Regions from separate parts of the Homo sapiens genome. Here regions 2, 3 and 4 are each linked to region 1. The links are contacts of gene promoters, found by promoter capture Hi-C in blood cells and fetal thymus (Javierre and others, 2016). All regions are on one chromosome and are shown on one strand. Each heading gives the region's core, a stretch centred on a gene start or on the middle of the fragment in contact. The rest is flanking DNA. Distances are from core to core; before and after follow the strand shown.

The links. The method cuts DNA at HindIII sites, captures the fragments that hold promoters and counts their contacts. A CHiCAGO score of 5 or more calls a contact.
Region 2: a fragment that was not itself captured here is called in contact with the fragment with the promoter of AKAP6 in region 1 in 1 of 17 cell types (endothelial precursors); the score reaches 5.1 in endothelial precursors.
Region 3: a contact is called between a fragment that was not itself captured here and the fragment with the promoter of AKAP6 in region 1, in 1 of 17 cell types (naive CD4 T cells). The highest score is 5.2, in naive CD4 T cells.
Region 4: a fragment that was not itself captured here is called in contact with the fragment with the promoter of AKAP6 in region 1 in 1 of 17 cell types (endothelial precursors); the score reaches 6.3 in endothelial precursors.

The regions. Positions count from the first base shown.
Region 1 is chr14:32,325,691-32,333,470 of GRCh38, reverse strand. AKAP6 (A-kinase anchoring protein 6) reads right to left here and starts at 4,173. Exons shown (of 14, transcript NM_004274.5): 1 at 4,063-4,173. RefSeq lists an enhancer at 1,914-2,208. The HindIII fragment of the contact is 1,578 bases long and covers 3,770-5,347 here.
Region 2 is chr14:31,523,336-31,530,432 of GRCh38, reverse strand. It overlaps LOC105370438 (a long non-coding RNA gene), which reads right to left. Exons shown (of 4, transcript XR_943723.3): 2 at 4,257-4,381. Among named protein-coding and RNA genes, the nearest start is that of NUBPL-DT, 34 kb to the left of the region's middle. The HindIII fragment of the contact is 1,383 bases long and covers 4,850-6,232 here.
Region 3 is chr14:31,651,693-31,658,825 of GRCh38, reverse strand. All of the region lies in intron 4 of NUBPL (NUBP iron-sulfur cluster assembly factor, mitochondrial), which reads right to left. Among named protein-coding and RNA genes, the nearest start is that of NUBPL, 94 kb to the right of the region's middle. RefSeq lists a silencer at 5,416-5,616. The HindIII fragment of the contact is 3,782 bases long and covers 2,561-6,342 here.
Region 4 is chr14:31,476,192-31,483,619 of GRCh38, reverse strand. It overlaps GPR33 (G protein-coupled receptor 33), which reads left to right. Exons shown (of 2, transcript NM_001197184.3): 2 at 1-745. The coding sequence ends at 656. Among named protein-coding and RNA genes, the nearest start is that of GPR33, 8.1 kb to the left of the region's middle. The HindIII fragment of the contact is 1,169 bases long and covers 3,531-4,699 here.

The DNA.
Region 1 (7,780 bases), core at 2,924-5,423:
CCCTTCCCCTCTAGAATGTAGCTGGGGAAGAGATTTGCATCTGTCTTGCTCATTGCTATAGATTCCCTGACAATGCCTGGCATATAGGAGATATTCAATAAATATTTATTGAATTGAATTGAATCCATGCGATCAAAACAAACTGCCATTCATGGGTTCTAGGATTATAAATAGAAGAAAATCAGAGACATGTAGCAAGACCACCAACTTCCCTAAATTCCACTGGCTATTTTATTTCCTAATTGGAACCTAACTCCTGTAGTCATTGTACCTAGCAGCTTTGATGCTTTCTGATCAGCCTCTCATTCCTGTACCTCATGCAGACACAAGCTTGGGCCTCTTTGGAGCAGGTTAGGACAAAGGTTAACTTCTTCCTGGAACCTAGAAAAGGCTAATGAGCCCTGTGGAATAATATTTCTAAGTATTCACCATACAGGAATCAATATCAACATGCTGTCAGTGTGTGCATTAGCCCCACACTCAAACAAAGAACAGCCCTTAGAGCCCAATAATGACGCTGGGCGTGGATAGCTGGGGATGAGCAAGATGATACAGAAATGACTATATCAGCTCTCCTCAAACACAAGGCTTCCAGGTTATTACACAAGACTGTCATTCTTGTACTTTGTCAGAGATAGACAGAGTTTGGTTTCAGCCACTGATACATTCAGCAAAATAAATCCTCTATCTTCTTAACCTAAGAGATAGATTCAGATTACACTTTCCAGACTGTGAGAGAAGTTTCTGCTTCTGTTCTCAACACCAGGTTGAGAACAGAACCTGGTGCAACAGCAGGGAATACAAACATCTTAAAGTTAACAAAGCACCACAAATATAGCTGATAAGACAGGTTTATAACAAAGCTGAATCATTACTGACTCAGGTAAGACCTGCTTTGAGTGCAACTCCATCATGCCCACAATTATTGATGTAACATTTTCCATACAGAGATCCTGCTAGAAAGTTATATCAAGCAAGGGCAGTGGCAAAAGTCTAAGCATCAACTCTTCATTACTTAAATCTCTGGGTACAAAGTAAATATTCACATCTGATCAAGATTCATGCTCATCCTTACAGTGAAATCAACCTTAGTGTTGCAAATGACATTTCATTCTACATATGAAATCTGATTTTCCAATTAGAATGAGGAGGGGTGGGGTACGTGTGATAGAGTATAGATGACTGATCTGTATGGTATATACAGTAAAGATGTCATAAAACTGAGATGGCCGTGGGTAAGCATGTGTGCTGCATAGCCAGATCGCAATGGTTTGGAATCCTGGCCCAATCACTTATTAACTACATAACCTTAGCCAAGTTTATTCGCCTGGCTAAGGACTGGTTTTTGCAAAATGTGAATAATAACACCTAATCCTATAAAGTGAGATTATTACTCTCTACTTCATAATAATAATAAGGGCTAAATAAGATATACACAAAACTTAATTCAGTACTGATACACAGTAAGAACTGAATAAATGATAGCTATGATTGTTATTATGATTATTATTTTTATCATCCCTATGCGGCCTAGTTATCGGCAAAGAATTAACTTCTTTGTAACTTTGTAATGTATTTGTGAAAGCCATGACCAAAAGTATAGAGGACATTAACTTCTTGTGAGGCTTCCATGGCCTAAACTCTGTCCAATAAACATGGTCTTGATGATCTATCATTACTGTGAAACAAAATTCCTTAAACTGTAGAAAGTTTCAGTGAGGCACCAATAAATACAGCCATAGAGAAATCTCTCCCTTCCCCTATACACACACACACACCATCTACCCCTTGGGGATATATTAAAACTAAGACAACTGAAATAGCCTTAGCCAGTAATTAAGACATGCAGCTAATCAGAGAGCAGCGCAGGCTGTGGCCCTCTACAAAGAAACGAAGAAACAAAACATTAGGATGATAGCTCTCATTACCAGGGCTTTGTTCTCCTGGAGCAAAAAGAGCACAAAAGCATAAAGTTGGAGAACTGTAATTGCATTTTGAACATTTGCGGGGGGAAAAATTACAGGGTTGTCTGAACCGGGAGGATGTTCCACTAGATAACTGCGTCAGTCCACACCCACCAGCGCCCTTCCCCACCCTCAAAGCATGACTCCACTTTTTCTAACACTGCCCTTAAGGAATCTAGCTTTTGTGACTTCCAGTAATTGAACAAATCAACCATGATGAAGCAGCTGAAGAGCACTTTAAACAAAAGAGACAAGAATTAAGCAAACAGAAAACTCATTACAATGCTGCCTTTTGCTTTTTTTTACTCCTAGAAATTCATGTTACCAAACAAGTCTTTCTTCATTGCTCTTCTTCAGAAATAATACTTTAAGAAAATTCTAAAAGGCACTAAGTGATTTTATCCAGATTTATAATCTAGCTACAAGACATACTTTCCCTTCCCCCATCACCATCTAGCACTCTTCCCTGTCACCTTAGAGCTTTCGACTTAGATGTGTTCACACCCAGCAGTCCCAGCAGAGCTTTCTGCTCACATTATATGACATAAAAAAGCAGGCAATGAACAATTCATGCTTCTAAGTGCTTGCGATAAAGCCAGGCTGAGCTGACCTCTCCCATCCTATACAGCTGCATGTCAGAAACATAAGCTTAAAGGACTGAGAGTAGCAAGCATGTGCGTGATGTGGTATAAACAAACAAATTAAAACCTGAGGCCTTTCCTCTGGCTGGTGCCTAATGGGACTAGCATACTTAACTCTGTGCAAAAAAAAAAAAAAAAAAAAAAAAAAAAAATCACTCCAAGCTAGCTAAAGGTATTGCTTTTCCTGCTTTCCATGATATATCTCTTTAGCCCCAATAAACAGACTAAAAGAAGAGGAATTCAATGGTTGCCATTCTTTCGTGTAAGACTTTTTGAGTAAAAACTATCAATTTGGCAGCATTAAGCCACAAGACCACTCCCTGATTCTAAGTGGACATATTGATCAATTGAACTGACATGTGCCTCCTCCTTTCTCTCCCCTAGTAGCAATCAGCTGTACCAGGGAAATCCATTTCATTTCCCAAAACAAAAGGCAACATTCTGCTCCTTATCTGACACTGTCAGACTAATTTTTTAGAAAATAATAATAATAATAAAGATGCCTAAAAACAGAGCTAGGAGTTGAAATGAAAATGATACGTGTTTAGAGTTTTGGAATTGAGTTGAGGTTATGACTGAGTCCAGAGGTCTGTAATCCCTACAACCACTGAGGACCCTGATATTTATTCATCATACCCAGATTTTTGTTAAAGTTAAGCAAGGGATGGCAACACCACTGCCACTTCAGAGGCTCTCCCAGGGTTACCCTTCACTGCAACTGCCGCAGAGAGGAGACTTGTTCCTTTCTCAGTTACAAGTCAGCCTGCAAACAACTCCAGCTATTTCAGAGACTAGCTAGAGATGGAAAAATATGTGGCAGTCTTTCAACTAACTCTGAAGGACATGGGTTGAAGAACTACCATATAGATCAAAAGGCTCAAATAATTTCATTTGGTTTAGGTTTTTATGCTTTTAATAAATTCTGTCTTGAATATGCAAGAGATCCCCTTTCACATCAGGGTTATGTCAAATGCTTATTCAGCATTTGTTCCTTGCCATGAAGAAACTGAAACCCAACCGAGGTAAATAATGAATTTCATACTGCAAATCACTGAATATTTCATAATTCACAAGAGCAAAGAGGGGGCCAATTAGCTCTGCCTCCCAAAAAGAAATCTATATTTTTACAATGCTTAAATACTGTTAACTACTCATTTTAAAGCTTATCTGGGGTTTTGCAATTGAAAAATCATCTTATGTTTATGAAAAATTCTGTAAGAACACTTAAAAATAACAGACAGAGCTGGAGCAAGAATAATTCTACATATTTTAATTCCTATATGACTCTTACAGGCCTTTGTCTTAACCCGGCAGCCTGAAAAACGATTTAGGTAAAACAGCCCTTCTTTCCCCAGTCCATTTTAAGCAGAGACAACATCCCCCAATCTCCGCCTTAGCAGACACCGACTAACCAACAAAACAGCCGTGCAATTAAGGCCCAGACATTTAACACTCACCATCTCCTGATCCCACCGTCTTCTTTTGATGTTTACAGCACATCTGTAGGATGCAATACTAGGAGATGCCTTGTTTGACCTGCTGCATGATGCTGTGACATCAGTTCAGATGATGCAGCTCATTATGGGAAAGACTGCTGTTGCTATGGCAACTGGGATGTGCTAGGAATCCTTGCTGCATTTCCAGTGGAGCCTGAGACAATACGGAAGCCCTGTAAGAAACAGACGATATGCAAAATTTAGACCAAAGGAAGAGGATTCCTCATTGGACTAAAATCCATAGGTTTAAAAGGGATTTCCCTGAAAGCATTTTGGAAAAAACAAAAATTATCTCCCCCTTTGTTGTTATACATTTAGAAAAAAAAGGTGGGAGGAGAAAATAGAATTAGTACTAAGCAAATAAAAACTGAAATGTACAATGTTTCCTTATTAGACAATTTGATCACTTTTTCCTCCCTGGTCAGCACTGGGATAGCTTTTTAAAAGTTATTAAAAAGAATTTTTGCTCATCTGTCAAAGACCAAAAGAACAAAACAGCGAGCACAAAAATAATTAAAAATGGAATATAAACAGCTGACCAAATGACTCTAACTCTCAAGTAAACAAGTTTTAATTCTCAAAACATGGGCAAACCCTTGGCCAATGAAGTCTGTCCTGGTTATTTTCCCTGATGAACACCAACCCACAGAACCTTCCCATGCAGAATAAACCCAGCTTTCACCTGGTCATCAGATAGGCAGCAAAGGGAAGTTTGGAATCTAGAGGGGCACAACACACCACCCTCAACTTCTACTGACCCTTCCTTTGGCCTGCAGGGAACCCCTCCTTCTCATGGCCAAAACGCATGTGAGTCTTTTCTGGGATCAAACCTAGTGGTTGGAACAAGTAGCAGACCTGCTAGAAACTTCCTAAATCGTTGGCATTCCAAACATTGGGGTCTGTTTTCTTCTTTTCTGAACAATAAAACTGCCTACCACACAGATTATTTGTGCCCCTCCCCAACCCCAAAAGCTGGAACTGTGTGAAAAGCCACATTTAAACAAGACACGGTAAGGCATTTCTCCAGTTGGTAAAAGAAAAGCAAATCTAAAGCAATCACTTCTTTCCAGTCCTGAGCAGAAATCAACGTCATGTGGTGAGAACTGGGGAGAAGGAGATATGGACAGAGCAGCCTATGTTTTGCATATTTAATATTTGCAGGCCATTGATAGAGAAAAGCAGAATCAAGTTGACCTGTATCCACTCCGTCTTCACAACTCTGAAAAAGAACAACATTCCAAAAGCTTAAAACATGAGACAATTATGTTGTCTCCTCCTGCTTGAGATTTTAAAATGGCACTGTTAACCACCAGCATAGGCGGTGTGGGATGAGTGGCAGAAGGAATTCAGGCAGTGTCTCTGTAAACAGGAGCTAATAAAATGCCTGAGAAGTGCCAATATCCCAGCAGCGTGCACCATCAGCCTCGCACAGAGCAACCCTGCCCTAGATGGGAAGACAGACTTGTTCTTGCTTCATCTAGAGAGGAATTAAGAGACCAAAAGCAGGAGGTGAATCTGCCTGCTTAGGTCCTTTGTGGCATCAGCAGAGCCTGACTCCCTCCCTTTATCTTAGACCTCAGACCACATGCCACACACAAGGGGAGAAGTAGCAGGCAGCTACCCCAGTACAAAGAGTACAGATCTGAGAGTCAGGAAACCCAACTGTAAATGTCAGGTCCTCCTAGAGCATCTGTGTGATATCAGGCCAATTGATTAACTTCTTGGGGCCTCAAGTTTTTCATCTGCAGAGATGATTGATTTAGCTAATAACCATAGTTTTCAGGTTTTTCATTAGTAATATAACCTTTCTTTTAATGATACAGATCAAAGCTGGACTGCCTTGGTTGAGGCAAGATAAGAAGCCCAGAGCCCAGACTGATGAGCCATTCTCAACCACTGCCTCCAACCTCATTTGCTGTAAGCTGACTCTTTAAGATACCTCTGAAGAACCCTTCAGTCTCTGGAGAAGATAAAGAGACATGGACCTATTACAGAACAAGATTAGTCTTTCCAGAGCTGAAATCCACATGCTATAAAGAGGAGAGGACAGGGTGGGAGCAGGTGTTCCAGATTTGAATATGGCTTCTCAAGATGGTAAGAATCTTGTTAATCTTTTTTGCCAGAAGCAAGTCAATCATTTGATGGGAAGAAATGGATGGCTCATCAAACCTGAGGCCAGGTCAAACTTTTAGCAACCTGGACTAGCTAAATTGCTTGCCCACAAAATGGCACTCACCAATGAAACGGAAGTAGAAGTGGAAACCATCAACTCCAAAGGTGGCTAAGACCAAGTGTCTCTTCTTCATGTTTTCCTGTCCTGCTAGCTGGATGCAAAGAATCCAGTGGAACTCTGAAGCCCAGAAAGATAATGGCCACACATTGTGGATGGAGCCTGGGTCCCTGAATGACTGCATGGAGCTCAACCATCCTCTCCCAACTACCTATTGACCTACACTGGGCTGCAATGAGTGAGAAACAAACACCACCAAGATTTTGGGGTAGTTTATTCTGAACAAATTATCCATTTATAGATAAAATTATAATTTAATAAAATATAAATTTTCTAACAAGATTATATTATATATCATTATTTATGATAAAGTGACAGTGTTAAAAACATGTTCCTTTATTGCAGACTTTCTTTTTTTATTTTATATTACTTTAAGTCCTGGGATACATGTGCAGAACATGCAGGTTTGTTACATAGGTATACATGTGCCATGGTGGTTTGCTGCACCTATCAACCCATCATCTAGGCTGTAAGCCCTGCATGAATTCGCTATTTGTCCTAATGCTCTCCCTCACCTTGCCCACAACCCCCCGAAGGGCCCTGGTGTATGGTGTTCCCCTCCCTGTGTCCATGTGGTCTCATTGTTCAAATCCCATTTATGAGTGATAACATGCAGTGTTTGATTTCCTGTTCCTGTGTTAGTCTGATGAGAATGATGGCTTCCAGCTTCATTCTTTTTTATGGCTGCATAGTATTCCATGGTGTACATGTGCAACATTTTCTTTATCCAGACTATCATCGATGGGCATTTGGGTTGGTTCCAAGTCTTTGCTATTGTAAATAGTGCTGCAATAAACATACATGTGCATGTGTCTTTATAGTAGAATGATTTATAATCCTTTGGGTATATACCCAGTAATGGGATTGCTAGGTCAAATACTATTTCTGGTTCTAGATCCTTGAGGAATCGCCACACTGTCTTCCACAATGGTTGAACTAATCTACACTCCCCAAAACAATGTAAAAGCGTTCCTATTTCTCCACAGGCTCTCCAGCATGTGTTGTTTCCTGACTTTTTAATAATTGCCATTCTAACTGGCGTGAGGTGGTATCTCATTGTGGTTTTGATTTGCACTTCTCTAATGACCAGTGATGATGAGCTTTTCTTTCATATGTTTTTTGGCCACATAAATGTCTTCTTTTGAGAAGTGTCTGTTCATATCCTTTGCCCACTTTTTGATGAGGTTGTTTTATTCTTGTAAATTTGTTTAAGTCCCTTATAGATTCTGGATATTAGACCTTTGTCAGATGGGTAGACTGCAAACATTTTCTCCCATTCTGTAGGTTGCCTGTTCACTCTGATGATAGTTTCTTTTGCTGTGCAGAAGCTCTTTAGTTTGATTAGATCCCATTTATCAATTTTGGCTTTCGTTGCAATTGCTTTTGGTG
Region 2 (7,097 bases), core at 4,292-6,791, 800 kb after region 1:
GTCGTAGATTAAATCTCACTGATTCTAAAGAGAAAATTTGTTTACATTTTGATAGCTAGCTCCCCCTCATACTTACAAGATGCTGTCACAATTCCAAACGTTTCATCCTGACGTGGCAATGTGCAGCAGAAAATGAGGTTGCCTCCTCCTGCGTGTCTCTTTTTAAGAGTAAGAAAATCTTTTCCAGAAGCCCTCATCACAGATTTATCCTCATTTTTCTTTGGCCAGAATTGTGTCTTATGCTCCTTCCTAAATCAGACTCGCGTGCACTCATGCACATGCACGTGTGTGTGTGTGTGTTTGGAGTTGTGTCTGTGTCCACAATTGACTTAGACAAATCAGGATTTATCTGTAACAGGAAGGTGAGGGGTGGATATAAAATCACGACTGTTGGCAAGGAAAAAGAGAGAAGGAGTATTGTATGGGCACCAGAAGACTCTGCTATACCAAAGACAAAAGAGAAATATGAAATAATATTTTCACTACACTTTCTTCGGTTCAGAACAAGGTATGTGCCCCACCTTCTATGCCAAGTCAAAAATAAAGCAAGAGTTTCATGGCTTCCTGAAGCTATTTTATTTTCCCAGGGATTTTTCCCCCTCAAAAAGTATTCATTATTTGCTGGAAAATGTGTGGCACAGTGTTGGACTCATCAGCATTAGCACACATTCTACAAAGTTACAGGAAACTTACCTCCAGGTTTTGCTAGCACATTATTATCATAAGCCACTGTTCCCTGACAGTGGTCCTTCATTATACGATTTTGGTTGCATGCTTAGCTATAGAATGCCAGCTAGCACTGAGCCACCAACTTCTTACTACTCAGAATCCGTGTTATTCATTCACTTAACACATGTTTATTAAGCACAGCTAAGCTATGTGCTATACTAATGATGGTGAAAATCTACTGAATGCTTGCTACATACCAAGTACTATTTTAAGCTTTACATATACTAGTTCATTTAGTCCTCATAGAAGTTTTTATGAAGTATGTAGACATCATTACTATTTCTACTTCACAGGTGAGTGAGTTCTCAAGTGGTTAAGTATCTTGCCCAAGGACACACAAACAAGTAAAGTATGAATCCCAAAAGTCTGGATATAGACCAGGGTATCAACCTAAGAAGGCTGGCTCCAAAGACCATGCTCTTAACCACTACACCATCGTTGCATCACAGTGCAAAGATAAACATGGCATGTTTTCTTTTCTCTAAGAATTCACAGTCTAACCAAGGAGGCAAACATATACACAGTACAGTACAGAGTGGTTAATGCTATAATACCTTCCCAACAGAATTTCTCTCAGATTGATAAAGAAATCCTTATTGTTTTCATGAGAACCATTAAAATTTACCATAATCTATAGTAATGCTTTGAATTTATGTTATACTATCTCTATCTAAGGTTCTCAAGTTAGAACTGTCACGGATACATCTCTTAAGATTAATAAAATAGCACTGGAGGCCACGCACAGTGGCTCATGCCTGTAATCCCAGCATTTCAGGAGGCTGAGGGGACAGGGTCCCTTTAGTTCAGGAATTCAAGGCTGCAGTGAGTACAGTGGCCCCACTGCACTCCAGCCTGGGCAACAGAAATAAATAATAAATAAATAAATAATAAATAAATAAATAATACTGCATGAAAAACTGGGTTAAGCCTCAGGGGTGAGCAGAAAGAATAATTATGTTTAATAAAGAATCTGTCTGAGGAATTCAAGCCACTAACAGCCTGTGAACAGAGCTACAATTTATTGACCATTTACTATGTACAAAGCCTATATGTTAATGTAATCCTCATAACCACCCTATGAAATAGGAACTAGAATTACCCCTATTTTACAGACAAGGAAAGAAACTTAGTGAGAATAAGCCATTTGCCTGAGGATAAACGACAGAGACCAGGACCTGTCAGAACCATGGCTCAAACCGGAACAATGTAATTCCAAAATCAGTGCCAGTAAACTACTACACTGTATACCCATGGAGGACATTTTACCTTAAAAGACTATAAATGAGTATAGTTCATGTCAGACCATCTGGCCCAGTTACACAGTGGCTTTCCAAATAAGGTATTTGAAAATTTATATTGATTTTTGTAAAATGACTTCAAGAGAATGCATTGATTATTAAATTCCATTAAAGTCTCAAACTTTCATCTCCAGTTTCTGCTGCAAAGTTTACTGTTCTGAACTATTTATTTCCCAGATGCCTCCCATCAAAGCTGATTGGTATTAAACTGTTTATTATAGTCTCCTTCCTTTTATAAGCTCAATTGTGTCCCCCCGGCAAATTCGTATGTTGAAGCCCTAACCCCCAGAAACTCAGGATGTGACTGCAATTGGAGATAGAGCCTTTGAAGAAGTGATTAAGTTAAAATGAGGCCACTAGGGTGGGCCCTTTAGGGTGGGCCCTAATTCAATCTTACTGCTTCTTATAAGAAGAGGAAATCTGGACATACAAGGAGATAACGGGGAGGCATATGCACGGAGGAAAGGCCACAGGAGGACACAGTGAGAAGGTGGCCACCTGCAAGCCAGGAAGAGAGCCCTTAGAAGAAACCAATCCAGCTAGCACCTTGGTCTTGGACTTCCAGCCTCCAGAACTGTGAGGAAATAAATTTCTGTGTGGTCATTTAAGCCACCCAGTCTGTGGTATTTTGTTACAGCAGCCCTAGCAAACCAATACACTTCTTTAGCTATGAGCCTCTCCAAAGCAGATACCATGTCATGTTCAACTTTGTGTCTTTCACAATTCCTTGAACATTAAAGGCACTCTTCAAATGTTTATCTTATTTAGAGGTGACAGTGTACTGGCAGCCCTCGCTCGCTCTAGGCGCCTCCTCGGCGTCAGCGCCCACTCTGGTCACGCTTCAGGAGCCCTTCAGCCCGCCACTGCACTGTGGGAGCCCCTTTCTGTGCTGGCCAAAGCCTGAGCCGGCTCCCTCAGCTTGCGTGGAGGTTTGGTGGGAGAGGCGCAGGCGGGAACCGGGGCTGCACGCGGTGCTTGCGGGCCAGCGCGAGCTCCGGGTGGGCGTGGGCTCGGCGGCCCCGCACTCGGAGCAGCCGGCCGGCGCCGCCAGCCTCCGGCAGTAAGGGCTCAGTAACTGGGCCAGCAGCTTGGAGGGTGCGCCGGGTCCCCCAGCAGTGCCGGCCCGCCCGTGGTGCACTCGAATTCTCGCTGGACCTTTGCTGCCTCCCTGTGGGGCAGGGCTTGGGACCTGCAGCCTGCCATGCCTGAGCCTTCCCCCCGGCTCCCCGCCATGGGCTCCTGTGCGGCCCAAGCCTCCCCAATGGGCGCCACCATCTGCACTGCAGCGCCCCGTCCCATCAAACCCCCAAGGGCTGAGGAGTGCGGGTGCATGCCGATACTGGCCGGCAGCTCCGCCTGTGGCCCCAGGGCAGGATCCACTAGGTGAAGCCAGCTGGGCTCCTGAGTGTAGTGGGGACTTGGAGAACCTTTATGTCTAGCTAAGGGATTGTAAATACACCAATCAGCACTCTGTGTCTAGCTCAAGGTTTGTGAATGCACCAATCAGCACTCTGTATCTGGCTAATCTGGTGGGGACTTGGCGAACATTTCTGTTTACCTCAGGGATTGTAAACGCACCAATCAGTACTCTGTGTCTAGCCCAAGGTTTGTAAATGCACCAATCAGCACCCTGTGTCTAGCTCAGGGTTTGTGAATGCACCAATCAGTGCTCTGTGTCTAGCTAATCTAGTGGGGACTTGGAGAACTTTTGTGTCTAGCTCAGGGATTGTAAATGCACCAATCAGCACCCTGTCAAAACAGACCAATCAGCTCTCTGTAAAACAGACAATCAGCTCTCTGTAAAATGGACCATTCAGCAGGATGTGGGTGGGGCCAGATAAGGGAATGAAAGCAGGCTGCTGGAGCCAGCAATGGGAATGTATTCGGGTCCTCTTTCACAGTGTGGGAGCTTTGTTCTTTCCCTCTTTGCAATAAATCTTGCTGCTCTTCACTCTTTGGGTCCTCCCCGCCTTTATGAGTTGTAACACTCATGGTGAAGGTCTGCAGCTTCACTCCTGAGGCCAGCGAGACCACGAACCCCCAGGAGGAATGAACAACTTCAGATGTGCCACCGCCTTAAGAGTTGTAACACTCAGGGAGAAGGTCTGCAGCTTCACTCCGGAAGCCAGTGAGACCGCGAACCCACCAGAAGGAAGAAACTCTGAACATGTCCGAACATCAGAAGGAACAAACTCCGGACACGCCGCTTTTAAGAACTGTAACACTCACCGCGAGGGTCCGTGGCTTCATTCTTGAAGTCAGTGAGACCAAGAATCCACCAATTCTGGAGACATTATTATTATGGTTTCAAGAATTGCTTCAAGTAACTTCATTTAGAGATTGATGATGAGGACCTACAAGACCAAACAATAACAATATATTCAATTCAAAACAATCTATGTAATATTTATGGGGTGGTAGATATACAAAGAGGAATAAGACTATGCCTACCTTCAAAGAGCTTATTACTGGTAAACTAGAGAGACATGTAAATTAATCATTGCAATATTGCTTGATTAATTACAGTGGTGGAGTCGGGAAGAGGGCTGATATAGCTTATTTTTGTGTGCCCATCCAAATTTCATATTGAAATGTAATCTCCAGTGTTGAAAGTGGGGCCTGGTGGGGGGTGATTGGATCATAGGAGCAGATTTCTCATGAATGGTTTAGCACCATCCTCCTTGATACTGTCCTCATGATAGTGAGTTCTCATGAGATGTGGTTGTTTAAATGTGTGTAGCATCTCCCACCTTGTTCCCTTGTTCCTGCTTTCACCATGTGACATACCTGCTCCACTTTGCCTTCTACTGTGATTAGAAGCTTCCTGAGGCCTCCCCAGAAGCAGATGCCACTATGCTTCCTCTACAGCCTGCAGAACCATGAGCCAATTAAATGTCTTTTCTTATAAATTACCCAGTCTCTGGCATTTCTTTATAGCAATGCGAGGACTGACTAATACAGGGACATAAGAAAATTCACAAGGGAAATCACACTTTAGCAGGTATTTAAAAGCTGCTTTGCTCATAGAACTATCTTCACTCATTTGGTTTTTGTTTGCTTGCTTTTTGAGACAGTGTCTCATTCTGGCGCCCAGGCTGGAGTGCAGTGGCATGATTTCCGCTCACTGCAACCCCAGTCTCCCGGGTTCAAGCGATTCTCCTGCCTCAGCCTACTGAGTAGCTGGGATTACAGGAGTCTGCCACCATGCCCAGCTAATTTTTGTATTTTTAGTAGAGACGGGGTTTCACCATGTTGACCAGGGTGGTCTCGAACTCCCAACCTCCAGTGATCCACCCACCTCTGCCTCCCAAAGTGCTGGGATTACAGGTGTGAGCCACTGCACCCGGCCCACTCATTTGTTTTATGAGATAAACATATGTCTTACCTTTCTAAATGTATAGATGATTCAGTGGGGCACACCTGCTTGTTCTGTTGTACCTTCTATCCTCCCAGAGTATCCCAATTCTAATCTGTCTACTTCATCTCCAGTTGAATTACCCTAAATAGTGTTTTATCATATCACTCCCTTTTAAAAAAACTGCAGTAACTCCCAAATGTCTTTAGGACAATCTTCAAAATCTTTAACATCACATAAGATTCTTGAAAATTTGGCCTCAAACTATCATCCCTGTAACCTTATTTCTTTTTACCCCAACTCAACAATACTGACAACAATAGTCTCACTAAAAGCAGTTCCCTAGAACCAACTGGTAATGATTGTTTGGGCTACGTTTCATGAGGATAAGAATAATTCTTCTCTGGCCACCACAACTGCTCAAGTGGAGTCACCTAGTGTCTCTAAATCCACCATTATAACACAGTTGGCAAGCTCAATTTAAGAAGACAACTGCTTGCTGGTTCAAGGTTTTGTTAGCTCAGCAGGAAGGGATGTCATTAATGAATTCCAGCAAACCCGGAGGCTTGATGTTGTCGCTTTTGTTCTTTCTGTGTTCCTGCAGTTGAGTTGCAGTGATCTGGTGAAGGAATAGTTAGGCCAGAGTGGTTGTTACCGCAATAGAGAACCATCGTTGAAGACTTTTTAGTTTGCTGCTACCCAAATAACATACTTTAGTCACCTGTAAAATGAAAGGGTTGAACAAGGCCATCTCCAAGGCCCTTTTCTGTTCTAAAATGCTATGATTCTATAATCAATAGCCTGACTTTTTTAAATGTGAGAAAGCCTCAAGAAACCCTTAAAATAAGCTTCTAGCTTGTTCATGCACACACGATTTATTTATTCAGAATTATATTATGTAATAATAGTAGTTATACATGACCTTAAAAACAGATTCATTCCTGAAATTTATTTTATTTCGTTTGCCCTTTGAATATTTTTTATGTTCTATTTTAAAGTTTGTGAAGATATTTCCAATATAGCATACCACATTAGTCTCAACATCCATGTATATTATTTAGAAAAAAATAGTTTTTAATTTATCCCAGGAATGATGTTTCTATATAAAAATACTAGATTTTAAGCGGGTAATTTCCTTGGACAAAAAGTATTGATCTCTACTATAAAATACATTTTGAAAACTAATAATTGAAGTATTTGTAAGTAGTTAAATGCTTTCATTCTTTAATGAAAATTACTATTCAGTGTTCATTTTATTTGTAATAAAAGATCAGCTGAATTTCTTAATGCAAAATGAGCTTGTCCCAGTGCTTTTTATTCTCACTTGAAACTCACCCAGCTCCTTATATCTAATTGGAAATCTCACCAATTTCAGAGAAAATTAATAATAATTCAGATGAACCATATTGGTTTCTAAATGGAAATGGAAGTATATGGTTTAGATTCACATATCTCCTCTATGATATCTGACATTAATGTACTCCCTTCATTTCTTTCTTCCTTCATCCAGCCCTCATTGTCTTCTCTCTTTAGCTCTCTTTTCTTCTCCTTCCTTTCACAGATATTTACTAAATAAATATAAAGCTCATGTACCTGTGACCCTTATAGTTCTATCCCAGAATGGCATCATCAAAGGCACACAGTCCAAGAACAAACAGGAGTTCAAAAATAAAGCAAGTCCTTTACTTGTGTTGTCCGAACACCAAGAAGAAAGC
Region 3 (7,133 bases), core at 3,202-5,701, 670 kb after region 1:
GTAAATAGCTATTAAAGGAGGCACAGTGGCGCACACCTGTAATCCCAGCACTTTGGGAGGCCGAGGCAGGTGGATCACTTGAGGTCAGGAGTTTAAGACCATCCTGGCCAACATGGTGAAACCCCGTCCCTACTAAAAATACAAAGATTAGCCGGCATGGTAGCGCGTGCCTGAAGTCCCAGCTACTCAGGAGGCTGAGGTGGGAGAATCACTTGAACCCAGAAGGTGGAGGCTGCAGTGAGCTGAAATCACGTCACTGCACTCCAGCCTGGGTGACAGAGTGAGACTCCCTTTCAAAAAAAAAAAAAGCTATTAAAGAAAACTTCCATAACCTATATTTGATCATCAGCCATTTTTAGTGCAGTGAAATATTATTTATTATCATAAATTAGTCACTATCTGTGACCTTGGGCAAACTGTCTTCATATGGCAAATGAAGTCTTTATATGACATACTGCATATGGAATAGCCGAAGATCAGAATATTAAACTAACCTGCCCAAAGTTAAAAAGCTAGCAACAGAAACATTAAGTATTTCAGTTAAGGCCTGTTTCTTCATTAAGTGCCATATTCTTTTCACATACATATCCAAGAAGCAGGAGGTTTACAGTTACTCCAACATACATGAGATTAATAGATAACACACAGTTGAAAGGTTAGCTAATATGAAAACAGGTTTCTTTCTATTGCTTGAAGATGCCCAGACAATTTCCCTGGAATGATTTAACAGTGTTCTGATATATCAAGTTACTCTGTAATTAATATGAATCATCTTTTAAACAGTAGTTGAATTTTTTTGTTTGTTCTGACATATCTTTTAGGTAGATTTCTGTTATTCTCAATCTTTCTGTTTATAGGGGACATTTCCAGCCTTATCAAATTCATATGATGTATAAGACTCTTTTTCTTCTATTAGTTCTGACTTCTAAAATTCTCAAGTTTTTGAAGTAGCAAATTCTCAAGTTTTTGAAGTAGCATTTTTAAGTAGCAATAGTAAGCTACAAGTACAAGGAATTCAAGAGCTGGAATTTAAAACTCACTAGCAATACATACCCATGAGTAGTAAAAAAGAAGAGTGTTGAGCAGCAAGTTAGAAAAATATGAATGACATACTGAGATAAGAAAAAGATATCTATAACAAGGGCTAAACACAAAATTACACTTGTTATAGTGACCAAAATGCCTGTTCATGTGTATATTATGAAGCAAGAAAAAACCTGTTTAAGGCTTTAACCTGTATTAAACATTTTAAAAAGACCAAATTATGACTGCCTGCATAAAAAGACCCAATGAAGGACAAAAATAGAAAATAAATAGAGGTACAGCCAAAGACAAGACACTGGCTTCGGTGTGGCCTTTATAACATTGTGGCTATAAGACTTATATAAACCGAATTTGTTTTGAAAGATAATATACTTACAAATACTTAGAGGCAAACTCTTTTCAATAAACATTGTTTAGATAATAAAAGCCTTACTATATTACCCATTTAGTTACACTAGAGATTTGAAAGCTTATATGAATGGCCCATATATCAGAGTATATAGATAAGAAATCATAGTAAAGAAGTAATAAAAAGCACAGTCATCAATGACTGCCATACCACATTAAATTGGAGGCTGCCCACACAGGTAATAAAACTTTGGATGTTGGGGGTCTGGTGATTTTGGTTACTGGCTACATTTGAAGTATTTCTAGAACAGTGACTACATTAAAGATTTCATTCTGTGCCATTTAATATTTAGGCAATTATCAATTTATATAATAGCTGTACCGCTAAAAAAGACTGCATAAAAATTACATTTCTTTAAAAAGGAATTTGATTTTAAAGGCTTACTACATAAGACAATTCTTTCTCCTCACTCACTCATTCAACATATTTATTGAGTGCCTTCTACAGGCATACTTTTGTTTTATTTTGCTTTGCCTTATTGTACTTTGCAGTTACTGCATTTTTTACAAATCAAAGGTTTGTGCAACCCTACATTGAGCAAGTCTATTGGTGCCATTTTTCCAATAGCATGTGCTCACTTCATTTCTATATGTCACATTTTGGCAATTCTGACAATATTTCACACTTTTTTATTATTAGTATGTCTATCATGGTGATATTTGATGTTACTACTGTAATTGTTGTGGGGCACCATGAACTGCACCCACATAAGATGCAAACCTATTCAATATATGTTGTGTGTGTGTTCTGACTGCTCGACTGACCAGCCCATCCCCCTATCTCTCTCTCTCTCTCCTCAGGCCTCCCTATTCCTTCAGACAACAATATTGAAATCAGGCCAATTAATAATGCTATCATGGCTTCTAAGTGTTTAAGTGAAATAAAAAGTTATATGTTTCTCACTTTAAATGAAAAGATACACATGATTATGCTTGGTAAGGAAATTGTGTCAAAAACCAAGATAGGCCAAGAGCTAGGCCTCTTGAACCAAACAGCCAAGTTGTGAATGCAAAGGAAAAGTTCTTGTAAGAAACTAAAAGTGCTACTCCCATGAACACATAAATAAAAAGAAAGCAAAACAGCCCTATCACTGAGACAGAGAAAGCTTTATTGGTCTGGATAGAAGATCAAACCAGCCACAACATTCTCTTAACCCAGAATGTAATCTAGAATATGGCCCTAACTCTCTTCAATTCTATTAAAGCTGAGAGAGGTGAGGAAGATACAGAAGAAAAGTTGGAAGGTAGCAGATATTGGTTCATGAGGTTTAAGAAAAAAAAAGCCATCTCTATAACATAAAAGTACAAGGTGAAGAAGCAAGTGCTGATGTAGAAGGTGTAGCAAGTTATCCAGAAGATCTAGCTAAGATAATGGAAGGAAGTAGCTAAACAACAGATCTTCAATGTAGATGAAATGGAAGAAGATACCAGGACTTTCACAGCTAGGGGAAAAAAGTTAATGCTTGGCTTCAAATAATAGGTTTACTCTCTTAATAGGGGCTAATGCAGCTGGTAACTTTAAGTTGAATCCAATATTCACTGACCATTTTGAAAATACAAGGGCTCTCAAAAATTATGCTAAATCTACTCTGCCTGTGCTCTATAAATGGAAAAATAAAGCCTGGCTGACAGCACAGCATGGCTTACTAATATTTTAAGCCCACTGTTGAAACCTTTTTGTCACCCAGGCTAGAGTGCAGTGGTACCATCTCGGCTCACTGCAGCCTCAACCTCCTGGGTTCAAGTGATCCTCCTGCCTCAGCACCCAAAGTAGCTGAGACTACAGATGCTCTCTGCCATGCCTTGCTAATTTTTGTATTTTCAGTAGAGACGGGGTTTTGCCATGTTGCCCAGGCTGGTCTCAAACTCCTGAACTCAGGCAATCCACCCGCATCAGCCTCCCAAAGTGCTAGGATTACAGGTGTGAGCCACCATGCCCGGCCAATTCCTTTCAAAATATTACTGCTCATTGACAATGCACCTGGACACCCAAGAGCTCTGATGGAGATGTGCAATCAGATGAATGTTGTCTTCATGCCTGCTAACAAAACATCCATTCTGCAGCCTGTGGATCAAGAAGTAATTTTGACTTTCAAGTCTTATTATTACAGAAATACACTTCATAAGGCTAAAGCTGCCATAGATAGTAATTCCTCTAACGGATCTATCAATTGAAAATCTCCTGGAAAGGATTCATTATTCTAGATGTCATTAAGAACATTCATGATTCATTGGAGGGGATCAAAGTATCAAAATGAACAGGAGTTAGGAAGAAGTTGATTCCAACCCTCATGGATGACACTGAGACTAGAATTAGAAATGGAGCCTGAAGATGGGACTTAATTGCTGCAATCTCATGGTAAAACAAACAGATAAGGAGTTGCTTTTTATGATAAGCAAAGAAAGTACTTTCTTGAGATGGAATCTACTCTGTGAAGATGCTGTGAACTTTGTTGAAATGACAACAAAAAGTTTAGAATGTTATATAAACTTAATTGATAAAGCAGTGACAGGGCTTGAGAGAATTGACTCCAATTTTGAAAGAAGTTCTACTGTGGGTAACTGCTATCAAACAGCATTACATGCTATAGACAAATCATTCATGAAAAGAAGAGTCAATCAATGTGACAAACATCATTTTTGTCTGAAGAAATTGCCATAGCCGGGGCAGGCACAGTGGCTCACACCTGTAATCCCAGCACTTTGGGAGGCCGAGGTGGGTAGATCATGAGGTCAGGAGATTGAGACCATCCTGGCTAACACTGTGAAACCCCATGTCTACTAAAAAATAGAAAAAATTAGCCAGGTGTGGTGGCGGGTGCCTGCAGTCCCAGCTACTCTGGAGGCTGAGGCAGGAGAATGGCATGAACCCAGGAGGCGGAGCTTGCAGTGAGCTGAGATCATGCCACTGCACTCCAGCCTGGGCAACAGAGCGAGACTCTGTCTCAAAAAAAAAAAAAAGAAAAAAAAAAGTTAATTGCCATACCCAACCCAACATTCAGCAACTACCACCCTGATCAGTCAGCAGCAATTCACATGCAGGCAACACCATCCAAAGGCAAAAAGATTACCATTCACTGAAGGCTAATGATCATTAGCATTTTTAAGTAATAAAATATTTTTAATTAAGGTACATACATATTTTTAGACATAATGCTATTTCACACTTCATGGACTACAGTATAGTGTAAACATAACTTTTATATGCAATGGGAAACCAAAAAATTCATGTTGCTTACTTTATTGAGACACTTGCTTTATTGTGGTGGTCTGGAACAAGACCTGCAACATCTCTGAGATATACCTGTATGTACCAAGTATGAAGTTTGGTGTTAGTGCTATAGTAGCAAAGAAAAACAGACATAATATCTTCCCCCATGAAATACAAAGTCAATAGGAGAGACAGATACTAACCACACAATTGTTGTGGGAAGTCAGGGACCCTGAACAGAGGAACCAGCTGGAGCCGCAGCAGAGGAACACAAATTGTGAAGATTTCATGGACATTTATCACTTCCCTAATAATACTCTTATAATATCTTATGCCTGTCTTTACTTCAGCCTCTGAACATAAATTGTGAAGATTTCCTGGACATTTATCAGTTCCCAAATAATGCTCTTATAATTTCTTATGCCTGTCTTACTTTAATCTCTTAATCCTGTTATCTTCATAAGCTGAGGATGTACGTCACCTCAGGACCACTATTGTACAAATTGACTGTAAAACATGTGCGTTTGAACAATACGAAATCAGTGCATCTTGAAAAAGAACAGAATAACAGCGATTTTCAGGGAACAAGGAAAGACAACCATAAGGTCTGACTGCCTGCGGGGTCGGGCAGAATACAGCCATATTTTTCTTCTTGCAGACAGCCTATAAACAGACCTGCAAGTAGGAGAGATATCGCTAAATTCTTTTCCTAGCAAGGAATATAATATTAAGACCCTAGGAAAAGAATTGCATTCCTCGGGGGAGGTCTATAAACGGCTGCTCTGGGAGTGTCTGTCTTATGCAGTTGAGATAAGGACCAAAGTACGCCCTGGTCTCCTGCAGTACTCTCAGGCTCACTAGAGTGGGGAAAAACCCCACCCTGGTGAATTTAAGGTCAGAACAGTTCTCTGCTCTCAAAGCCTGTTTTCTGTTGTTTAAGATGTTTATCAAGACAATACGTGCACAGCTGACCATAGAACCTCATCAGTAATTCTAATTTTGCCCTTTGCCTTGTGATCTTTGCTTTTGTCCTTGCCCTGTTTCCTCAGAAGCATGTGATCTTTGTTCTCTTTTTGCCCTTTGAAGTATGTAATCTTTGTGACCCACTTCCCGTTCGTACACCCCCTTCCCTTTTGAAGTCCTTGATAAAAACCTGCTGGTTTTGCGGCTCAGGTGGGCATCACAGTCCTACTGATACGTGATGTCACCCCCAGAGGCCCAGCTGTAAAATTCCTCTTTTTTTACTCTTTCTCTTTATTTCTCAGACCGGCTGACACGTAGGGAAAATAGAAAGAACCTATGTTAAAATATGGGGGGTGAGTTCCCCCGATACACAATCACTAGATAAATGTAAATTTGTAACCAAAACTAGTGCTATGAAGGAAATTATAGGATTTGGCCTTGTCACAGGGTCTTTGGTACAAAGGAAAACCTCTCCATAATTTAAAAACGCAACTCACAAACTTGATGGTTTTATAAATTTTGGTTTTTATATATTGATGTCTTTAAAATCAGGGCACACATATTAGAAATGTTATTACTTTATATAAATGCCATCATTTAAAGAAAAAGCAACTTTATTTTTTAATCATTTTTAATTGACAAAATTTATATATATTTATGGTATACAAAGCAATGTTCTCATATATGTATATACTATGGAGTGATTCAATCAAGCTTATTAATATAAGCTTGTCAATTTTTTGTGGTGAGAACACTTAAAATGTACTCTCTTAGCAATTTTCAAGTGCACAATGCATTAGTATTTTAACTACAGTCCCCACGCTGTACAATGGCTCTCCTCAACTTATTTCTCCTACCTAACTGAAACTTTGTGTCCTTTGGCCAATATCTCCCCATTCTCCCATTTGGAACCCCTGGTAACCACCATTCAACTCTCTAATTCTCTGAGTTCCACTTTTTTTAGATTCCGCACATAAGTGAGATCACATGATATTTGTCTTTCTATGCCTGGCTATTTCATTAAGCTTAATGTCTTCCAGCTTTACTCATATAGTTGCAAATGACAGAATTTCTTTCTTTTATGAGGCTGAGTAGTATATATATGATATATTCTGTATATATATCACATTTTCTTTATCCATTCATTCAACCACATTTTCTTTATCCATTCATTCATTGATGGACACTTAGTGATGTTGAGCATTTTTTCATGCACCTATGGGTCATTTGCATGTCTTCTTTTGAGAAATGTCTATTCAGATCCTTTGCAGATTTTTCTTTTTTTCTTTTTTTTTTTTTTTGAGACAGAGTCTCGCTCTGTTGCCCAGGCTGGAGTGCAGTGGCACTATCTCAGCTCACTGTAAGCTCTGCCTCCCAGGTTCATGCCATTCTCCTACCTCAGCCTCCTGAGTAGCTGGGACTATAGGCACCCACCACCACACCTGGCTAATTTTTTTGTATTTTTAGTAGAGATGGGGTTTCACCATGTTAGCCAGGATTGTCTCGA
Region 4 (7,428 bases), core at 2,866-5,365, 850 kb after region 1:
TTTTCTTCCTTTCGGCCATCGGTCTTGATCGTTACCTTCTCACTCTTCACCCAGTGTGGTCCCAGCAGCACCGAACCCCGCGCTGGGCTTCCAGCATTGTCCTGGGAGTCTGGATTTCAGCCGCTGCCCTCAGCATCCCCTATTTGATTTTCAGAGAGACACATCATGACCGTAAAGGAAAGGTGACTTGCCAAAATAACTATGCTGTGTCTACTAACTGGGAAAGCAAGGAGATGCAAGCATCAAGGCAGTGGATTCATGTGGCCTGTTTCATCAGCCGCTTCTTGCTGGGCTTTCTTCTGCCTTTCTTCATCATCATCTTTTGTTATGAAAGAGTAGCCAGCAAGGTGAAAGAGAGGAGCCTGTTTAAATCCAGCAAGCCCTTCAAAGTTATGATGACTGCCATTATCTCTTTCTTTGTGTGTTGGATGCCCTACCATATACACCAGGGCTTACTTCTCACTACGAACCAGTCACTACTTTTAGAGTTGACTTTGATACTTACAGTGCTAACCACTTCTTTCAATACTATCTTTTCTCCCACACTCTACTTATTTGTTGGGGAGAATTTCAAAAAGGTCTTCAAGAAGTCCATTCTTGCTCTGTTTGAGTCAACATTTAGTGAAGATTCTTCTGTAGAAAGGACACAAACCTAAACTCAGAAGCCTAAATTTAAATTCTAGATTCTTAAGCAAACACGCACTTGGTCAATTATACCAATAGGATATACCTTCTGCTTTTGTATGCTATAGTCCCTATATTAGAGAGATAACTAGGCTGTACTATAGTTAGATTTCTGAGCAATAAAAGGGCTGCAAGAAAACAAGCAATTTGCAAGATCATGCTGCAAATGTGATTCTTTTCTTTTCTTTTCTTTTCTTTGAGGCAGAGTCTCACTCTGTCGTCCAGGCTGGAGTTCAGTGTGCAATCTAGGTTCACTGCAAACTCCACCTCCCAGGTTCAAGTGATTCTTATGCCTCAGCCTCCCAAGTAGCTGGGACTACAGGTGTACACCACCATGCCCAGCTAATTTTTTTATTTTTTATTTTATTTTTTTTATGAGAAGGAGTTTCGCTCTGTCACCCAGGCTAGAGTGCAGTGGTGCGATCTCGGCTTACTGCAAGCTCCACCTTCCGGATTCAAGCCATTCTCCTGCCTCGGGCACCTGAGTAGCTGAGACTACAGGCACCTGCCACCACGCCTGGCTAATTTTTTGTATTTTAAGTAGAGACAAGGTTTCACCATGTTAGCCAGGATGGTCTCGATCTCCTGACCTCGTGATCTGCCCACCTCGGCCTCCAAAACTGCTGGGATTACAGGCGTGAGCCACCACACCCAGCCATGCCCAGCTAATTATATTTTTAGTAGAGATGGGATTTTGCCCATATTGGCCCGTCTGGTCCCAAACTCCTGGTGCCAAGTGATCCGCCTGCCTCAACCTCCCAAAGTGTTGGGGTTATAGGCATGAGCCACTGTGCTGGACCTATGATTATTTCGACTCATTTTTTATTGTGGAAAAATATGTGTAACATAAGATTTACCATTTTCACCATTTTTAGTGAACATTTCAGTGGCATTAATTATATTCACGAAATTGTACAACCATCACCACCATCTATTTCCAAAATTTTTCATCATTCCAAGGACAAACTCTGTGCCCATTAAGTAGTAACTCCCTATTCCTCCTCCCCCTGGTCCCTAATAATCTCCAGTCTACTTTCTGTCTCTATGAATTTGCCTATTCTAGATGTTTCATATATGTGAAATTATACAGTATTTACCCTTTTGTGTCTGACTTACTTCACTCAGCAAAATGTTTTCAAGGTTCATCTGTGTTGTTGCAGTATCAGAACTTCATTCTCTTTTTACAGCTGAATTATATTTTATTGTATGTATATAACATAATTTTTAAATCCAGCCATCTGTTGTGTTGTTTCCACCTTTTGACTATTGTCAATAAAGCTACTATTATTGTGAATAAAGCTACTATTAACATTTGTATATAAGTATTTGTGTCAGTCCTTGTTTTCAATTATTGTAGGTATATACCTAAGAGTGGAATTACCGGTTCAAATGGTAATTTTATGTTTAACTTTTTGAGAAATCATAAAGCTTTTCAATTTGCACCATGTTACATTCCCACCAGCAATGTATAAACGTTTTAGTTTCCCCACATCTGTGCCAACACTTGTTATTTTCCTTTTTTTAATTATAGTGTAGTCATTCTGGTAGGTTGAATCAATCTTCTTGCCTCAGCCTCTGGAGTACCTGGGACTACAGGCACACACCACCATGTCCAGCTAAAACTTTTGATTTTTGAAGCTAGGAATATCAGTTGCCAAATTGATCAATAGTATCCAAGGATTTGAATTTTCTGTCACAGAATCTTCTGACAGACATTTGGACAGAGCTCCCTCATTATTTAGTAACATCTAAATTATTTAACTGGTATGAATAAAACTTAACATGGAAGTGACAAGGCACTTATCTCTTTTTTTTTTTTTTTTTTTTTTGAGACGGAGTCTCGCTCTGTTGCCCAGGCTGGAGTGCAGTGGCATGATCTCGGCTCACTGCAAGCTCCGTCTCCCGGGTTCACGCCATTCTCCTGCCTCAGCCTCTCGAGTAGCTGGGACTACAGGCGCCCATCACCATACCTGGCTAATTTTTTTGTATTTTTAGTAGAGACGGGGTTTCACCATGTTAGCCAGGATGGTCTTGATCTTCTGACCTCGTGATCCGCCCACCTTGGCCTCCCAAAGTACTGGAATTACAGGCATGAGCCACCGCGCCCGGCCACAAGGCACTCATCTTGTTACATCCATGTTAAAGCATAAAGACACTTCTACTTTAGTGTTTTAATTATTAAGGCATCTTAACTGTCTTTTTCTAATATTTATAGAGTAAGCTATCTCCAAAATTTGGGGCTAAAATAATGTTCAAGAATCTGCCTGTTGTCATAGACTTAATTTTATAAATGCAATAACAATATTAATTTGTGTTCTCTGATTTTCAGGTTATGTTTCAAGCTTTGTGTACTAAGTGACTGCACCTAAGTTATGTAGAACCACATAATATCACTCACCTATTGTCTTTGTATTTAGTTAATTCTATCAATCAATCAATACATGTCAATCAATAGGTAGTCCTGTCAATTCTAAATCAACTGAACTATCTAGTTAGTTCAACTGATACAACATGGAGATATTTGGGTCACATCCCACACTCAGTCCCTGAATACACCAGCATGCTTTGTACAAAGCATTCCAAACCGCAAGCATATAGCCTACGCAGAAATCCCCAAAACGTATGATATGAATTACAAGGAGATACAGAAAGAAGAAAATTAATCTTCATGACTAACTTTTTATAGAGAAAGTAACAGTAGTTTGGTGTCCTAGAAATCCTGCTAATTGACGTGGTATCAGGGCTCCCCTGGGCAATTGGGGGCTTGGTCTCTCTTACTTGGAATGACAAAAGCTTTGGGTAGATGAAAACTTTAATTGCTGACCCTATTTCAAGGTTTTGAAGCTTGAACAGTTTTTTTTTTCTTTTTCGGAAAGGGAGATATGAATTGATGACCAGGCTGTGGCTCCGACTACAGCTGCAATGAGAAATGGATGGTGCTTTTTTCCACCCCACACTATCCCAGGTCCTGACAAGCCCACTGAAGTTTTAGTTTTATGATGCAGGATTTAAGAAAGAAAATTATTGAATGCAACATAGGATTCTTTGAAACAAGATTTGGATTTTGGAAATCTAGCAGCTACAGAGAGTGCCTTTTGTCTACCTCCTCAGGCCTGCTACAATAATAAACAAGGAACATGCCCTGGAAAGCGTGGATTTTGTGGTATTTGTAAGCCATATGTTGTCATTCCTTACAGCTATCTATGTACGCTTTAAATTGTCTTTTTCATGAGACCTAGGTCAGGGCTTTTTGAAGTATTTTGTTCCATCTTTCTATAAATTGTAAACAACTCAGGGACAGAAAGAATTCTATCAACTATAGCATTTCATTTCTATAATATTATACACAATTGATAATAAAAGATATTTAATAAAAGTTGAGTTTGCACAATTACAACATGTAAAGCACTGTATAAATATAAGATATTAAGAGTTTTTTTAAAGTCAATTTAAATGTAAGAAAATAGGGTATAATTAAGAAAATTATTCCCAAATGCATTTTTAACCTCACAGAAAACTGGTTAATTTTTTAAAAATCTACTCATTATAATTGCGTTGATCTCATCAACCTCCTCACTATTTTGAATTCTCAGGACTCAAAAGGTTTATAAACAAAGAGTTGGTGGTTTTGCTCTGTGGAACTGGTACAAAGAGACACTGTTTCAAAACAATGTGCCTGTCAGCACTCGATTATATAAAGCAGCTTCACTATATCAGTATCAAACTGGTTTAAGAACAAAATACAAGGATGATTAGAGATGCATTTTAAATGCCAGTGTAAGTTCTTTCCTCAAGAAGTAGCTCTTTGTTTTGATGAGAAGGATGCTCAGATGCTAACGTGTGTGAGAGGGGTTAGGGTATAAGATAGAATGCTGTGTACAACACAAATCTGATTCCATATCCCTGAGAAATTAGGGGAAACAATCATTTACCAGTATAGTATATGTACCTGGCACTGTGATAGGCACTGGGGAAACAAGAGTGAATCTGACACAATCCCTGTCCTAAAGAAGCTTGAAGTCTAGTGCAGTGGTTCTGAATTTGGCTCCACATTGTAATCATCTGGGATACTTTTTTAAAATGTCAGTTTCAAGGCCTTATCCAAACCAATTAAAACTAAAATCTCTAGAAGCAGGACGCAGGAACCAGTATCTTTGTTTGTTTGTTTGTTTGTTTCTTGAAACAGTCTCACTGTCACCCAGGCTGAGGTGCATTGACATGATCTTGGCTCACTGCAACCTCTGCCTCCTGGGTTCAAGCAATTCTCGTGCCTCAGCCTCCATAGTAGCTGGGATTACAGGCGTGTGCTGCCACGCCCAGCTAATTTTTGTATTTTTAGTAGAGACAGGCTTTTGTCATGTTGGCCAGGCTGGTCTCGAACTCCTGACCTCAAGCAATCCACCCACATTGGCCTCCCAAAATGCTGGGACTACGGTGTGATCCACCGTACCCGGCCAGTATATTTTTTATTCTCAGATTAAGTCTAAAGTACAATTAGGTTAGAAAACTCCAGTTTAGTAGGAAAGAAAAAGGAGTAAAATGGTAATTCCTGCCTTCACCAGTCAAAAAAGTTTTCCTGGATAAGGGCCTGAGTCCTGCAGAACAGTGTTAGGCATATAAAGAAGAGGAGGATAGTTCCTTCAAAGAGAGGAAGCAGAATGTGTAAGAGCCCTGGAGGGAAAGAGAAGACATTGCTATAAAGCAGCACTACCCAAACCTCAATATGCAAATGAATCACCTAATAATCTTGTTAAATGTTGATTTGATTCAGTAAACCTGGAGTAAATCTAACTTCAGTAAGTCAGATTCTGCATTTCTCTTTTTTTTTTTTTTGAGACAGAGTCTTGCTCTGTCGCCCAGGCTGGAGGGCAGTGGTGTGATCTAGGCTCACTGCAAGCTCCGCCTCCCAGGTTCAAGCAATTTTCTGCCTCAGCCTCCCAGGTAGCTGGGATTACAGGTGCCTGCCACCACACCCGGCTAATTTTTGTATTTTTAGTAGAGACGGGGTTTCACCATCTTGGCCAGGCTGGTCTTGAATTCCAGACCTCATGACCCACCTGCCTCAGCCTCCCAAAGTGCTGGGATTACAGGCGTGAGCCACCACTCCAGGCCAGATTCTGCATGTCTTTTTTTTTTCTTTTTCTGAGACCGAGTCTTGCTATGTTACCCAGACTGGAGTGCAGTGGCGTGATCTCGGCTCACTGCAAGCTCCGCCTCCTGGGCTCACGCCATTCTCCTGCCTCAGCCTCCCGAGTAGGTGGGACTACAGGCACCCGCCACCACGCCCAGCTAATTTTTTGTATTTTTAGTAGAGACGGGCTTTCACCCAGGATGATCTCGATTTCCTGACCTCCTGATCTGCCCGCCTCGGCCTCCCAAAGTGCTGAGATTACAGGCGTGAGCCACTGCACCCGGCCCAGATTCTGCATTTCTAACAGGATCCCAAGGGATCCTGTTGCTGCTGGTCCAGCACAAGCCAAAAAACATAATTGCAACATTAAGTGTGAGAAGCAGGCTGGAAACATGAGCTGGAAAAGTCAACCAGGACTAGATCCTGAGAGCCTATAAGAAGGAATTTGGACTTGATCCTAGACTTTATCTTGAGGGCATTTGGAAGCCACTGAAAGACCTTAAACCTAAGAGTGATAGGTTGAGATTTGCATTTTAGAAAGATAGATTGCTCTGTCTACTACAGTAGAGAGGTCAAAACTAGAGGTGGGTGGCCAAATAGGACAGTGCCAAAGTAATCTAAGTAACAGATGATGTGGCCTACTAAAAAAGTGTAAGTAAGGATCAAGAAAAGTCGAGTTCTGTAAATTCTGTTGGTTGAAGGGGAAGTTGAGGACAATTCCTCTGTCAATTAGTGTTCTTTGTTGCAAACAGTAGATTTCATTCTGGCTGATTTAAGCAAAAACTGATTTATTAAAAGACATTAAGTAACTCACAGAATTATTAGGATAGTTGGAGAAACATTCAAGGAGCAGCTCTCAGAAACCATGCCCAAAACATGCCACAAAACTACCCAAATCAGGAATTTGTCACTGGTGTTCCGTATTTCAGTAAATGATACCAAATGTTGCTGCTGCTGCTGTTGAGCCCAAAATATCAGCAATTTGGCTTTACTAAAACTGCTACTGCCGCTGATACCATTTCTGCATTAGGTCTTGAACCACTCTGTGCCTGAAAGCTCTGACAACAGGACAGAAATCTCATGCAGAGCTTGCTTATTCACATTGCTCACTTCCAAATTTAGTCTTGCACAAGGATATCTAGTCAGCATGCCTGTATCCTAGCTGCAAATGAGGCTGGGGAATTTAAGTTCTGATTTCTACATGAGTGAGAAGGGGTTACTCAAAATGTAGGAATTTCCCCAAATATAAAAGCCATTCAAAAGATGATGGATAGAATATGACAAATGCATACATTTCTGTATTCGGAGACAGCTCGTGGTTTCCATTTACAGAAATAAGGAAGAAGGAAGGAAGAAGGAAAGAAGAAAGAGGAAGGAAGGAAGGAAGGGAGGGAGGGAGGGAAAGAAAAAAGGAAAAGAAAGAAGAAAGGAAAGAAAGAAAGAGAAAGGAAGGAAGGAGGAAGGAAGGAAGAAAGGAAGGGAGGGAGGGAAAGAAAAAAGGAAAGGAAAGAAGAAAGGAAAGAAAGAACAAAAGCAAGAAAGAAAGCAAGAAAAAGAAAGAAAGAAAGAAAAAGAGGAAGGAAGGAGCAGGTAAAGAAGTTCAGTCTTGGACA